Linked DNA regions of Homo sapiens: region 2 is linked to region 1. The links are contacts of gene promoters, found by promoter capture Hi-C in human tissues and cell types (Jung and others, 2019). All regions are on one chromosome and are shown on one strand. The core of a region is centred on a gene start or on the middle of the fragment in contact, and the rest is flanking DNA. Distances in the headings are between cores, read along the strand shown. Region 1 holds the start of KRTAP5-1 (keratin associated protein 5-1). Region 2 has its middle 29 kb from the start of MIR483.

What was found. The method cuts DNA at HindIII sites, captures the fragments that hold promoters and counts their contacts. A contact is called where the count stands out against the background at its distance.
Region 2: a contact is called between a fragment that was not itself captured here and the fragment with the promoter of KRTAP5-1 in region 1, in 2 of the 25 tissues and cell types used here (dorsolateral prefrontal cortex and lymphoblastoid cells).

Annotation. Positions count from the first base shown.
Region 1 is chr11:1,582,777-1,589,693 of GRCh38, reverse strand. It overlaps KRTAP5-1 (keratin associated protein 5-1), which reads left to right and starts at 4,411. Exons shown (of 1, transcript NM_001005922.1): 1 at 4,411-5,352. The coding sequence starts at 4,445. The coding sequence ends at 5,281. All of the region lies in intron 1 of KRTAP5-AS1 (KRTAP5-1/KRTAP5-2 antisense RNA 1), which reads right to left. The HindIII fragment of the contact is 15,838 bases long and covers 1-6,917 here.
Region 2 is chr11:2,101,266-2,108,182 of GRCh38, reverse strand. No RefSeq gene overlaps it. Among named protein-coding and RNA genes, the nearest start is that of MIR483, 29 kb to the left of the region's middle. The HindIII fragment of the contact is 7,700 bases long and covers 514-6,917 here.

The sequences.
Region 1 (6,917 bases), core at 3,162-5,661:
AATGCTCGGGAGGAGCAGGAAACAAGCCACCTCCATGTGAAAATGCAGGCTGTCTACTGATGAATGCTCGGGAGGAGCAGGAAACAAGCCACCTCCATGTGAAAATGCAGGCTGTCTACTGATGAATGCTCAGGAGGAGCAGGAAACAAGCCACCTCCATGTAAAAATGCAGACTGTCTACTGATGAATGCTTGTGAGGGAACTTCCGGAGGATGTTTTCAGGAAGAAGGAAGCTGAGCCCGGAAGGAAGAAGTATGGTGTAAGCAAGAACCACGCCTAGAGTTGTTGGTGGATGTGTGGCAAGTTTAAGCAAATACTGACTATAAATAAACAATGATGAGCAATGTGAGAGGAGCTAAGACGCTGGAGAAACTCCCACAGCTGACACCGGAGGGGCTGGGCAGGGGAAGAAGCTGTCCCCAGCTCCCTGCACAACTCTCAGCAGGGGAGGAATAGAGGGCCATCACGTGTAGACAACATTTGTTTAAAAATACACATGAAATGCATAAGGTTGCTGCTAAAAACAGGAATAGTGTATATAACTTCTAAGTCAGTCAAAGCAAAACAAAATAAAAACAAAAACAGAACCTTAAAAACTCCATCTAAAAGAAGAGGGGAAGGAAGCACTACCACAGGATGGTGAAATGCAAAGGGTGGTGGGAAGCAGCCCACGTATGTCAGAAATCACAGCAAACCCCACAGGCTTAGCTCATCGGGTAAAGAACAGAGACCCCAAAATATGGGAGCTTTTAAAGCAGCCCCACAGTAGTTACCTCACCCAGAAGCTTGCAGAAAGGCTGAAAGAAGCTGAATGAAAATGACTGCAGAAAAGGGAGGGAGGGAGGGAGGGAAGGAAGGAGGGACAGATAGAAAGCCCAGATGGCAGTGACTCTCTATCGCACGCCTCCTGGCCTGACAGTCCACGTCCAGCAGACAGTCACGCACCCCAGCACCCGCATGTTTAGAAAGTGCAAAAAGAACAATGGAGAAAATAAAGATATGAGCAGAACTAAATAAAAATGTTTAACACATACAACAAACAGAATCAACAAAATCAAAAGCTGGTCTTTCAAAAGACAAAGAAAATCAACAATATTTAGCAAAACCAATGAGGAAAAAAAGGGTCGGGCAGGAGAAAGAGCATGTATAACCTGAAGCAGGGATGAAAAACGGCAAATAGGCTGGGCACGGTGGCTCACGCCTGTAATCCCAGCACCGTGGGAGGCCAAGGCAGGTGGATCACCTGAAGCCAGGAGTTCGAGACCAGGCTGGCCAACATGGCAAAACCCTATCTCTACTAAAAATACAAAAATTAGCCAGGCATGATAGCAGGTGCCTATAATCCCAGCTACTCGGGAGGCTAAGGCAGGAGAATTACTTGAACCCGGGAGGCAGAGGTTGTGGTGAGCCGAGATCACACCACTGTACTCCAGCCTGGGTGACAGAGTGAGACCCTGCCATAAAAAAAAAAGAAAGAAAAGAAAGCAAATAATGACAAATTTAGCAGCTATTAAAAATAACAGGCTACTAAGCCAGGCGTGGTGGCACACGGTAGGGATTTGTAGTAGTCAAATGTGGTAGTCTGTAGTAGTCCCAGCTACTTCAGAGGCTGAGGACCACTTGAGGCCAGGCGTGAGTTCGAGACTGCAGTGAGCTATGATGGTGCCTGTGAACGGCCACTGCACCCCAGCCTGGACAACATAGCAAGATCCCATCTTCAAAAACAGAGGCAACTATGAAAAGTACATCCCAATAAATTTGAAAAACTTAGAATAAATGACATCTATGTTAAGAAGAAACACAGGAGGATGAGGCAGGAGAATTGCTTGAACTCGGAGGCAGAGGTTGCAGTGAGCCGAGATCACACCACTGCACTCCAGCCTGCGCAACAGAGCGAGACTCTGTCTCAAAAAAAAAAAAAAAAAAAAGAAGAAGAAGAAGAAGAAGAAACAAAAGGCTGGGCGCTGTGGCTCTCGCCTGTAATCCCAGCACTTTGGGAGGCTGAGGCAGGTGGATCATGAGGTCAGGAGACCAGCCTGGCCAACACGGTGAAACCCTGTCTCTACTAAAAATACAAAAATTAGCTGGGTGTGGTGGCACGTGCCTGTAATCCCAGGGGAGACTGAAGCAGGAGAATTGCTCAAACCAGGGAGTCAGAGGCTGCAGTGAGCCGAGACCATGCCACTGCACTCCAGCCTGGCAACAGAGCAAGACTCCATCTCAAAATAAAAGAATCCAGAAAATTCAAAGAACTTCAGACACCAATAAAAATAATAATGATCTTGGCCAGGTGTGGTGGCTCACACCTGTAATCCCAGCACTCTGGGAGGCCGAGGTGGGTGGATCACTTGAGGTCAGGAGTTCAAGACCAGCCTGACCAACATGGTGAAACCTTGACTCTACTAAAAATACAAAAATTAGCCAGGTGTGGTAGCACATGCCCGTAATCCCAGATACTCGGGAGGCTGAGGCAGGAGAATTGCTCGAGCATGGAAAGCGGAGGTTGCAGTGAGCCGAAATCGCACCATTGCGCTACAGCCTGGGAGACAGAGCAAGACTCTCCATCTCAAAAATTAATAATAATAACTATCTCAATTTTGTAAAGTGGGCCAAGGACGTGAAATTAACGAGACTCTAATGACAGGTGACCATATGGAAAGAGGCACAGCATGGCTAGTAACCAGGAAGAGGGAATATTAAACCACAGTGTGTAACACTGTGTTACACACCCACATGAAGGGTGTAAGTTGACAGTTGCAAGTTTTGGTGGGGGTGCCAGGAAACAGGAGCTCTCTGGCAATGCTGGTTGGACAGCAGCTGGCTGGGGGGATCCCTTGGGAAGACAGCTTGGTAACAAGAACCTCCTGACTTTCAGGCACCCACACCTGCAGGAGGGGTTTTGGGCAAGAAAGTTGCAGCTTGCTTGAAATAGCAACAAAAAGGAAACAAAAGGTCCATCAACAAGTAAATGGATAAGTCAATGTATATTTAGAAATCAGAGAAAACAAATAAATTAAAACCATATGTATCCCTAGAGAAAATCTCTTTAGCCTAACACCTATTTTTTTCAAAAGCAATTTACAGAAAGAGAAATACAGTGTAATACCCATTACATAAAGTTTTCAGCATGTAAAATTTTTTTTTCTTTTTTCTTTTCTTTTTTTTTTTTTTTTTTTGAGATAGAGTCTCACTCTGTTGCCCAGGCTGGAGTGCAATGGCGTGATTTCAGCTCACTGCAACCACTGCCTCCCAGGTTCAAGCGATTCTCCTGCCTCAGCCTCCCGAATAGCTGGGATTACAGGCACATGCCACCATACCTGGTTAATTTTTGTATTTTTAGTAAAGACGAGGTTTCACCATGTTAGTGAGGCTGGTCTCAAACTCCTGGACTCAAATGATCCGCCCACCTCAGCCTCCCAAAGTGCTGAAATTACAGGTGTGAGCCACCGCGCCTGGCCACAAAACATTTTTAAAGGAACATACATATTAAGTAGGAGTGTGAGGACCTTCATGAGAGTGGTGAATTCCAAATTCAAGAAATTATTAGGGTGGGACAGAAACAATATGGAGAGATGGAGGAACAGAGACTTCATTTATTTATGCCATTTTTTCCCAAGTTGAGTAGGGTTTTTTTTTACATTTTTTAAATATATTACTCTTTATACCATCGTTCAACTAAAATAGATCACTTTTTTTTTTTTTTTGAGACAGAGTCCCGCTCTGTTGCCCACACTAGAGTGCAGTGGTGTGATCTCTGCTCACTGCAACCTTCACCTCTGGGTTCAAGCCATTCTCCTGCCTCAGCCTCCCAAGTAGCTGGAGTTACAAGCATGCACCACCATGCCTGGCTAATTTTTGTATTTTTAGTAGAGATGGGGTTTTGCCATGTTGGGCAGGCTGGTCTCCAACTCCTGACCTCAAATGATCCACCTGCCTCGGCCTCCCAAAGTGCTGGGATTACAGATGTGAGCCACCACACCCAGTTAATTTTTGTGTTTTTAGTAGACACGAGATTTCACCATTTTGGCCAGGCTGGTCTCCAACCCCTCACCTCAAGTGATCCACCTGCCTAGGCCTCCCAAAGTGCTGAGATTACAGGTGTGAGCCACCATGCCCAGCCTAAAATAGATGCTTTTGTAAATCCAGTGTGACTCTGGAGTCAACAGGGAGAGGCTAGACCCTTGGGGGCCTCCATTAAGTCTGGACACAGATTCAGCAAGAGAGCAGCAGCCCACTGAGCAGCCCATACACCAAGGGGCGGATTTCTAGAGGAAACAAGAAAAAGGGGCCCTAAAAATGGCACAAACAGGAACCAGGAAATGTGTGCCCAGCCTCACACATGACCCTGGGCAGGGATATAAAGGGTCCAGGCTCAGGGAGCTCCACACCTGCACCTCCCTCTCACCTGCTCCTCTACCTGCTCCACCCTCAATCCACCAGAACCATGGGCTGTTGCGGCTGCTCCGGAGGCTGTGGCTCCAGCTGTGGGGGCTGTGGCTCCGGCTGTGGGGGCTGTGGCTCCGGCTGTGGGGGCTGTGGCTCTGGCTGTGGAGGTTCTGGCTCCAGCTGCTGTGTGCCCGTCTGCTGCTGCAAGCCCGTGTGCTGCCGTGTGCCAACCTGTTCCTGCTCCAGCTGTGGCAAAGGGGGCTGTGGCTCTTCTGGGGGCTCCAAGGGGGGCTGTGGCTCCTGTGGAGGCTGCAAGGGGGGCTGTGGCTCTTGTGGGGGATCCAAGGGGGGTTGTGGCTCCTGTGGGGGCTCCAAGGGGGGCTGTGGCTCTTGTGGGGGATCCAAGGGTGGCTGTGGTTCCGGCTGTGGGGGATGTGGCTCCAGCTGCTGTGTGCCTGTCTGCTGCTGCAAGCCCATGTGCTGCTGTGTGCCAGCTTGTTCCTGCTCCAGCTGTGGCAAAGGGGGCTGTGGCTCCTGTGGGTGCTCCAAGGGGGCCTGTGGTTCTTGTGGGGGCTCCAAGGGGGGCTGTGGCTCCTGTGGAGGCTGCAAGGGGGGCTGCGGTTCTTGTGGGGGATCCAAGGGGGGTTGTGGCTCCGGCTGTGGGGGCTGTGGCTCCGGCTGCGGTGTGCCCGTGTGTTGCTGTTCCTGTTCCAGTTGTGGCTCTTGCGCGGGGTCTAAGGGAGGCTGCGGGTCATCCTGCTCCCAGTGCAGTTGCTGTAAGCCCTGCTGCTGTTCCTCAGGCTGTGGGTCATCCTGTTGCCAATCCAGCTGCTGCAAGCCCTGCTGCTCCCAGTCCAGTTGCTGTGTCCCCGTGTGCTGCCAGTGCAAGATCTGATTTCTGGCTTTGCAGGACTCTTACCATGGCCAGGCATTCCTGCCCAGCCTTTACCTCCTTTTCCTGGCACCCAGTGAGCCAGACTCTCCTTCCCCACCCACTACCCTATCTCCCACCCTCCTGCCTTGCCAAGCATGAACACTTCTCTTTGACCTTCTACCAAGAAATGCCATGGGCCCATGCATCCAAGAAGAATGACTTTCAAGGCCTCCCTTCCAGGCATCTGGAGACCAGCCCCCCACCGCCCCAGCCACCTGCAGCAAATGCCTATCCGCAAGCCCTGCCTGCTGGCACCACATCCAGCACGGACAGCCCTGCAGGACAGCCCAGGGTGCTTGCTCACTCTGCAGTCACTAGGAGTTCAGATCTCTGTCCTTTAAACATCCAATAAACCGCTCACCCCAGCACCCCATAGCTGTCTTGGTATATTTATGTTTATTTCCCTCTCGAGGCAGGTGGGGGGCATCTGTGGCTACACTGGGTCCCCTGGGAACCACACACACACACACACACACACACACACACACACACACCGGCCCTGAACCAAACCGGAGCAGGCAGGTGGGCGCCCTGGCCAGCAGGGATCCTGGATACATGGTGGCGGTCAGAGGCAGGAGCACCAGCAGCCACCTGGCTCAGCCCCTTGCCGTGCAGCCTCTACCACACCCTCTCAGCATCTGGCTCAGGGCGGGGGTGCCTTGCCTTGATCAGGCAAAAGCAATCACTAGGGGGTCATCATGGCCTGTTACCACGCGGTCTTATTCTCTTTGGGCTGATGTAACAGAACACCATGGACTGGCATGTACAACAGAAGTGTATTTCTCAGGGTTCTGGAAGCTGGCAGTCTGAATTAAAGATGCCGGCGGCCAGGTGCGGTGGCTCATGCCTGTAATCCCAGCACTTTGGGAGGCCGAGGGGGGCGGATCACCAGGTCAGGAGATTGAGACCATCCTGGCTAACACGGTGAAACCCCCCTCTCTACTAAAAATACAAAAATTTAGCCGGGCATGGTGGCAGGCGCCTGTAGTCCCAGCTACTCAGGAGACTGAGGCAGGAGAATGGTGTGAACCCGGGAGGCGGAGGCTGCAGTGAGCCGAGATCGCGCCACTGCACTCCAGCCTGGGCTACAGAGCAAGATTCCGTCTCAAAAAAAACAAAAAACAAACAAAAAAAGCCAGAAGAATGCAAATATGACATTCCAGAGGGGATGTATATGGAAGGTCAGCAATCCCATTGCAGCAACCAGAGAAGGCCACATTAATTACAGAACTCAGATGGTAAAATAAATAAATAAATAAATAAATAAATAAATAAATAAATAACTTCAGGAAATCCTACCGTATGTATCTTACCACAATTTTTTTTTTCTGAGATGGAGTCTCACTCTGTTGCCCAGGCTGGAGTGCAGTAGTGTGATCTCCACTCACTGCAACCTCTGCCTCCTGGGTTCAAGCTATTCTCCTGCCTCAGCCTCCTGAGTTTCTGGGACTACAGGCATGAGCCACCATGCCCAGCTAATTTTGTTTTGTTTGTATTTTTAGTAGAGATGGGGTTTCACCATGTTGGCCAGGCTGGTCTCAAACTCCTGACCTCAAGTGATCTACCTGCCTCACCCTCCCAAAGTGCTGGGATTATA
Region 2 (6,917 bases), core at 3,114-5,613, 520 kb before region 1:
AGGTTGCCAGGCATGAAGGGGACACTTCAGTCCAGCAGGACCTTCAGATGGCTGGGGCCCAGGGCTGGTGGCTTGGCTTGGGGTGTCAGGGGGTGGCAGCCAAGCCAAGCCACAACCACCAGGCTAAGCTGCTCCTGTACTCCTGACCCACAGAAACTGAGATGATAAATATCCATCACTTTAAGTCTTTATTGTTTTAAGTTTTGGACTAATTTATTCTGCAGCCATAGGCAACGAACACCGTCTTCTGGCAGGGGTGAAATAGATGCAACTAGACCAGAGGGGACAAGGCTGGTGCAAGGAAGGCTTGTAAGGACGGAGAGTTGGAGGGGAGCTCAGGAGTCCTGGCCTTGGGTCTGGCCTGGCTCTGAGGCTCAGCAGCTGTGAGCGCTGGACAAGTCTGCCTCCCACCCAGATTAGCCTGGGTGATGAGTGTGGTGTGTGGCAGAGGCGAATAGCCTATGATCACACAGGGAGGACCAGTGTGAGTCACACAAGGGACAGCAATCAAGGGTGACATTGGAGGAACTTGGCTTGTGGTATGGGTACAGGGGACACCAGGGAAGCCTGCAGATGGCTCAGAGTGGCCAAGTCCCCAGAGCAGGCACAGAGGAACAAATCAGAGCATGGCTCAAAACAACGGGCAGCCAGCACCTGCACAGTCCAGCTGGGTACATCTCTTTTTGCCCTTTCAACACCTGGGGCCCAGCAGTTGTTCTCAGGTCAGTGTGAGTGGTCTGGGAAGACAGCTGCCCACCTGGGCCTTTCCACTTGGCTACGTTCCTGGCTGGCATTCAGAGAAAGGGCATCCACCCATCCATTCATCCATCCATGCATCTATCCATCCATTTATCCAGGCATCTATCCATTCATTCATCCACCCACCATCCACCCATCCATTTATACACCCAGTCATTATCCATGTATTCATCTATCCATCCATCCTTTCTTCCATCCATCCATCCAAGCATCTATTCACTCACTCCTACATGTATCCATTTATCCATCCATCTATCCATCCATCCATGCATGCATCCACCCATTCATACACCCACTCATTCATCCATGTATTTATCTATCTATCCACCCATCCATGTATCCACCCCTCTATGCATCTATTCATCCATCCATTCACCCACTCATTCATACATCCACTCATTCACCCATGTATCTATCTATCTATCCATCCATCCATCCATGCATCCACCCATCTATGCATCTATTCATCCGTCCATTCACCCACCTATTCATACACCCACTTATTTATCCATATATCTATCTTCCATCCATCCATGCATCCACCCATCCATGCATCCACCCACCCATTCATCCATCCATCCATCCACCCACTCATTTGTTCATGTATCCATCCACCCATCCATCCTTCCTTCCATCCATGCATGCATCCATCCATCCATCCATGCACCCATCCATGCATCCATCCATCTTCCTTTCCTTCCTTCCTTCCTTCCTTCCTTCCTTCCTTACTTCCATGAATCCATGCATCCACTTATCCATCCATCCATCTGTTCATCCATCCATCTGTTCATCCACCCATCCATGCACCCATCCATGCACCCATCCATGCACCCATCTGTGCACCCATTCATCCTCCCTCCCTCCCTTCTTCTCTTCCTTCCTTCTTTCCTTCCTTCCTTCCTTCTTTCCTCTTGCCCTCCCTCCCTCTCTTCCTTCCTTCCTTCCTTCCTTCCATGGATCCATGCATCCACCCACGCATCCAGCCATCTACCCAGCCAACCATTTACCCATCTACATACCTTTCTAGCCCCCACCACATACTCACATGGACATCTGGGGGAGAGCATCTCATGGCAGGAGCAGCGGGTACAAGGCTTGTAGAGAGGTGATGTGGCGTCTCTGAGGAGTGGTGGATAGGGAGGAAGCATGGGTTGTTGAGAAACACACCTGAGAAACCAAGGGGAGCTTGCCCAGGAAGGCATCAGGAAGCCCTGAAGGGGATGCAGCTTTTTCTTGGAGAGAAGTGGGGCTAGTGGAGGTCTCTGCTTAGGAGTGAAGGGATCCTGTGGCTGCTGAGTGACCAGAGTGCAAGAGGAGAAGTGGAGGCACCTGCTGGGATACACACAGAAGGGAGTGACTGGGAGGGACTGGTGGAGGAGTGAGGGTGGTTGCACCCTGGTGTGTGCTGAGGGCAGAGTGAGAGCCTTTGCTGAGGGCCTAGAGGAGTGAAGAGCCCAGAAGGCCCCTGGGAAGGATGGCATCACCTGACAGAGAAGAGGAGAGGCAGAAAGGTACATTTGGAGTTTCAGGGCTAGGCGGTCATGTCCACAGAGGCCGGGGACATCCGTGAGAGGGGAATAATGGACAGACAGCACCTGCCAGGTCATGTTGCCAAGAGGCCCCTGGCCAGGAGCTCAGACCAGCCTGGGCAAGTGGTCAGGTCCTGGCTGCTGGCTGTGGCCTTCGTCCTGCTGGCCTCTCAGATGTCACAGGGAGCTCTCGGAGCCTCTTGAGCTGTCCCCCAATGGGCTGCTACCTGGCTCCGAGGCCTGGTCCCAGCCCCACAGCCCCAACTTGGTGTTCCTTCAGGGCAGAGACAGATGGGACAGGGGTCAGTGAGGGGAGGAGAGTTCTCAGGAGGCGGTGCTTGGGCTGGGCCTGGGGAGGGAAGCTCCAGGGTGCTCCTGGGGCAGCAGGGTGAACCAGCTCTGACGTTTTCTGTATTAAGGAGCATCTGAGAAGGGAGAGAACAAACGCTTCGCTTTTCCACATCAGGCACAACATGATCGGTCATCCGTTTTCATTCCGGGATCTGGAAAACAGCTGATTCTGGAAAGCTACAACTTCCCTAGGTGCAGAGCTCTGTGGAGAAGGGCTCCCGCAGGGCTGGGGGTGGGAGCTCAGGCCCCAGGCACTCCAGAGCTGGCTCAGGAAAGGGTAAGGCTCAGACTGGGCCTGGAGGGAAGAGCCCACCAAGGAGGAACCAGTCTCCACCCCCTGCCTCTGGCCAGGTTTCTATAGCACTGGTGACCAGGACACTCGAGCCTCTGGGACCTCAGTGGGCTAATCCGGGACTAATCCTAGCAACAGGCTGGGCCTGCAGCCACATGATGGCCGAGGGTTGCTGAGCATGCACCCATGACCCTTCCCAGGGGCCTGGCCACAGTGCCTGGTTTCCCTCTGTGCCCTGGCATTGAGTGGAGTTGGCTCCAGGAGCAAGGCCCCCTGGGCCTTTGGTCCCTTTCCTGGGCCCAGCTCTGGGCCACTGGGGTCCCCATGGCTGCCCTCACCTGGGGGTTGGCAGGATCAGCGGAAATTAACAGGTGAGGGAGGCCTCATGCATGAAGCACGGCTTCCTGCTGGGAGCGGTGGAAACCTGGGGATTTCGGGGCGGGCTCAGGGATCCTGATACACTCACTTGGGGCCCTGGGCTGGGGCAAGGCAACATGGTGAGTCTTCTGGGCCACTGGAACCGTGAGGAAGGACAAAGCTCTGGAGGCCTTGACCAAGGAGGCCTGCTGCGCGTGTGTGTATATGAATGTGTGTTTGCATGTGTGGGCGTGCGTGTGTATATGAATGTGTGTTTGCATGTGTGGGCATGTGTGTATATGAATGTGTGTTTGTGTGTGTGGGCGTGTGTGTATATGAATGTGTGTTTGCATGTGTGGGCATGTGTGTGTATGCATGTGTGTCTGTGCGTGCATGTGTGTACCCCTGTGTGTGTGTGTGCGCACTCCGGCACGGGAGGGGGTTGTGCCCCTGCCTCCGCGCCCCAGAAGCTCTGGTTCCATCTGTGTTCTTGCTTTTCATCAGTCAGCCATCATTTGTTAATTCATTCATTCACCCATCATTCATTCAGCAATGGTCAGGAGGAGCCAGGAAGCACCCTTGTCCGTGCTGACCCAGGCTGTGGGTCTGTTGTGTTGGCCTCAGCAGTGTCTGGGCATCAGCAGGTGAAAGGGTGCCTGAGTGTCAGTGTGGGAGCGGCCTCCACTGAGAACCACAGCTCCCCGGGAGTACCCTGAGCGGCAGCGCTCTGTTCCCTGCTCTGCCATCTCCTGGACCCATGCCCTTCCTAGCTGCTGGATCAGCCTCTGCCCAGGTTGGGCTGCAGGTGCTGGGTCCAGGCCTCCCCGGGGTGCCCCTCGTCAGGGGTTGCAGGCAGCCCCTGCGACCATGGCTGGAGCTGGGCTGACCCGGGCTCAAACTCCTGACTCTTGTGCCACTTACTGTGTGTCTGCGGGAAAGCCACTTAATGGAGACTCATCCTCAGTCTCCTTGTCTGGAACAGCGACAGTCCTGACTCCTTCAGGGTTTCGAAGGTGATGCTTGTGGAACACGCTACTGGCACCTGGCCATGGAGGGCGTGAGGGACGGCCACTGTCACTACCCAGATTTTCCCTGGGCCAGCAGTGTGGGAGCAGATGGGATTTGGAGTGGAGCACGCACAGGACGGCCCTCGTTCATTTTGAGTCCACACAGGCCTGTGTCCCCAGTTCCCGGCCCTGCCCCTGCTCTGTACTGCAGCACCCCTACCCTCAGAAGAGACCCCTTATTTCCATGTGGAAAGCGCTCTTTGGGCTCTAAGTGGCTTCCCAGGAGGGCAGAGCCCCTGGAGCCATCTCTGGGTTTCCAGGAAGCCCACTGGGAGGGTGGTGGATGGTGTCTCCAGGGCCGTGGAACACTCTGGCTACCCTTAGCACGAGAGGGGGAGATTCTCTGGTTTTCAGCTTGTCCTTCTGTTCCAGGGACAGCTCTGTGGGAGAGGCTCTCTCCTGCCAATGCAGGAGACAGAGCTGGAGCAGAGGAGAGCCCCTGCTTAGGCCTAAGAGCCCCAGCTTGGTCACTGAAACTGGGAGCCACGGTTGGGTTGGAAAGTCTGGTCCTCCGTGCCCTGGCAAGGGCAGACTTGGTTTTCCTTCCTACTCTACTCTTCCAGTCTCCTCCTCTGCCAGACTGGCCATGGTGGGTCAGAGAGAGGGGCAAGGAAAGGGAAGTGGGGGGACAGAGCAGGATGACCATAAGGAAGAGGACACAGGAGAGAGAAGGGGATGCAGGGCCTTCCAACTATGGACTTGAAGAAGAAAGACGAAAACAAGAAACCAAAGTCATGTCTTGGCCAACAAACCCCCAGCTCCTATCTCCCTACAGAAAGAAGCTTGGGGGAAACTGGCTCCAGGAGCCTTGGCTGCAGGGAAGGCAGCATTTCCACGACTGAGCCTTTTGCAAACTATGTGGGTCCTGCTCTTTTTGGCCCTCCTGCTCCAGCCCCCAGCTCCCTGCATCCAGCTCTGAGGGCCCCAGAGCCCCATCAGATGTGGAGGGAGCTTGGGTGGAGCAGGGTGGAGGTGCGGCAAAGATCAGGCCAGGCCTCATTGTTTAGAAAAGAAGGAACTGACTTCAGCTCCGGGAGCAGGGCCTCCCACCCCACCCGGACTTCCTGCTCCCTGGGCCTGCCAGTGCGGACTTTGTCCACCTTATTTGGGGATTGAGAAGCCACACTGCTCTATGGCCCTGGGGGTCATGGCAGAGAACCAGAGACTCACAGAGTGGAGGGTGCCTGGCAATCATTCTCCATGATTCAAGGTTACAACACCTTAGCCAAAGAAAGTGCTATTTGAGGATCCATTCATTCCTCCATCCAACTGTTCATCCACCCTTCCATCTACCCACCTGCTCTTCATTCATCCACCTACTTATTCATACGTCTACATTCATCCTCATGTCTCCACATCCCCCACTCACCCATCCATTCATCCTTTCCTCTACCCACTCATCCTTTCATCCGTCCATCCATCCATCCATCCTAATCATCCATCCATCTCAACCATCCATTCATCCATTCACACACCACCTTCCCATCCACTCATCCACCCATCCATCCCACACATCCTTCCACTCACCTACATATTCACTCATCCATCCATCCATCCATTCCAACCTCCATCCATTCACCCACCTACCCATCCATCGATCATCCATCCATCCATCCATTTATCCATCCATCCATCCATCCATCCATCCGCTCACCCATCCATCCATCAATTCACCCACCCATCTATCCACCCACCTATCTACCACCCTTTCCACCACAATTCTATATCATCCAGGTTTGATAATTGGAAGCCCATTGCTAAGAAAACTTCTTGAACAAGTTCTTTGGCTAAGAAACAAGAGGCTGCCTCAATTTACCCACTGCATCTGTGTCTTATGGATTTGAAGTCATCATAAGTCACATCTAAGACCAGGACCAGGACCTGAGACTGTCCTTTCAGGACCTTTTATTTTCCACAATGACAGTGACAGACACACACAGGGAGCACTAAGGCTGGGGTCCCAGTGGACGTCAGTGTGGGGAAGAGTCTCTCCTGGCTCTGTGTGGCCTTTGAAAGACACCTCATTCCTTTGGTCTAGGCTTCTCTGTAAAATGGGCTGCCAAGATGGTTGTGCGGGTCGATGGAGAGAAGTAATCTGCCTGTCTTTGAATCATTGCCTCCAGGTGAAGGTCTCCCCTCTTTCTAACTCTAATCTAAAAACCCATGAGGTTGAAATCCTCAAGCCCCAAGCGACACCTGTGAAACGGCCCAAGAGAAGCGTGCCATGAGGCAGCAGGAAGGGCATTCCAGGAGGAGGGAACAGAGGTGAGAGAGACGCCCTGACATTTGGGGACCCAGCAGGGAGTTTGGCCTGGCTGTCACTGGAATGGCAGCACAGGTGGCTGGAGAGGAAAGAGGGGCCAGGCTGAAGGATCAGATGCCCCTGGGAACACACAGGAGCTGTGGGGTGGGCCAGGTGGGGTTCCTGAGGGAGGGGCACAGGTGGGCCAGCTGGCCGAGAAGAAGCTTCCTCTGCAGGGTGGCGAGTAGAAAGGGGAGTGAGCCCCACCTGCATGGCTGCCGAGGGGTCCAGTGAGGGAAGGTGGTGAGTCCAGGGACCCA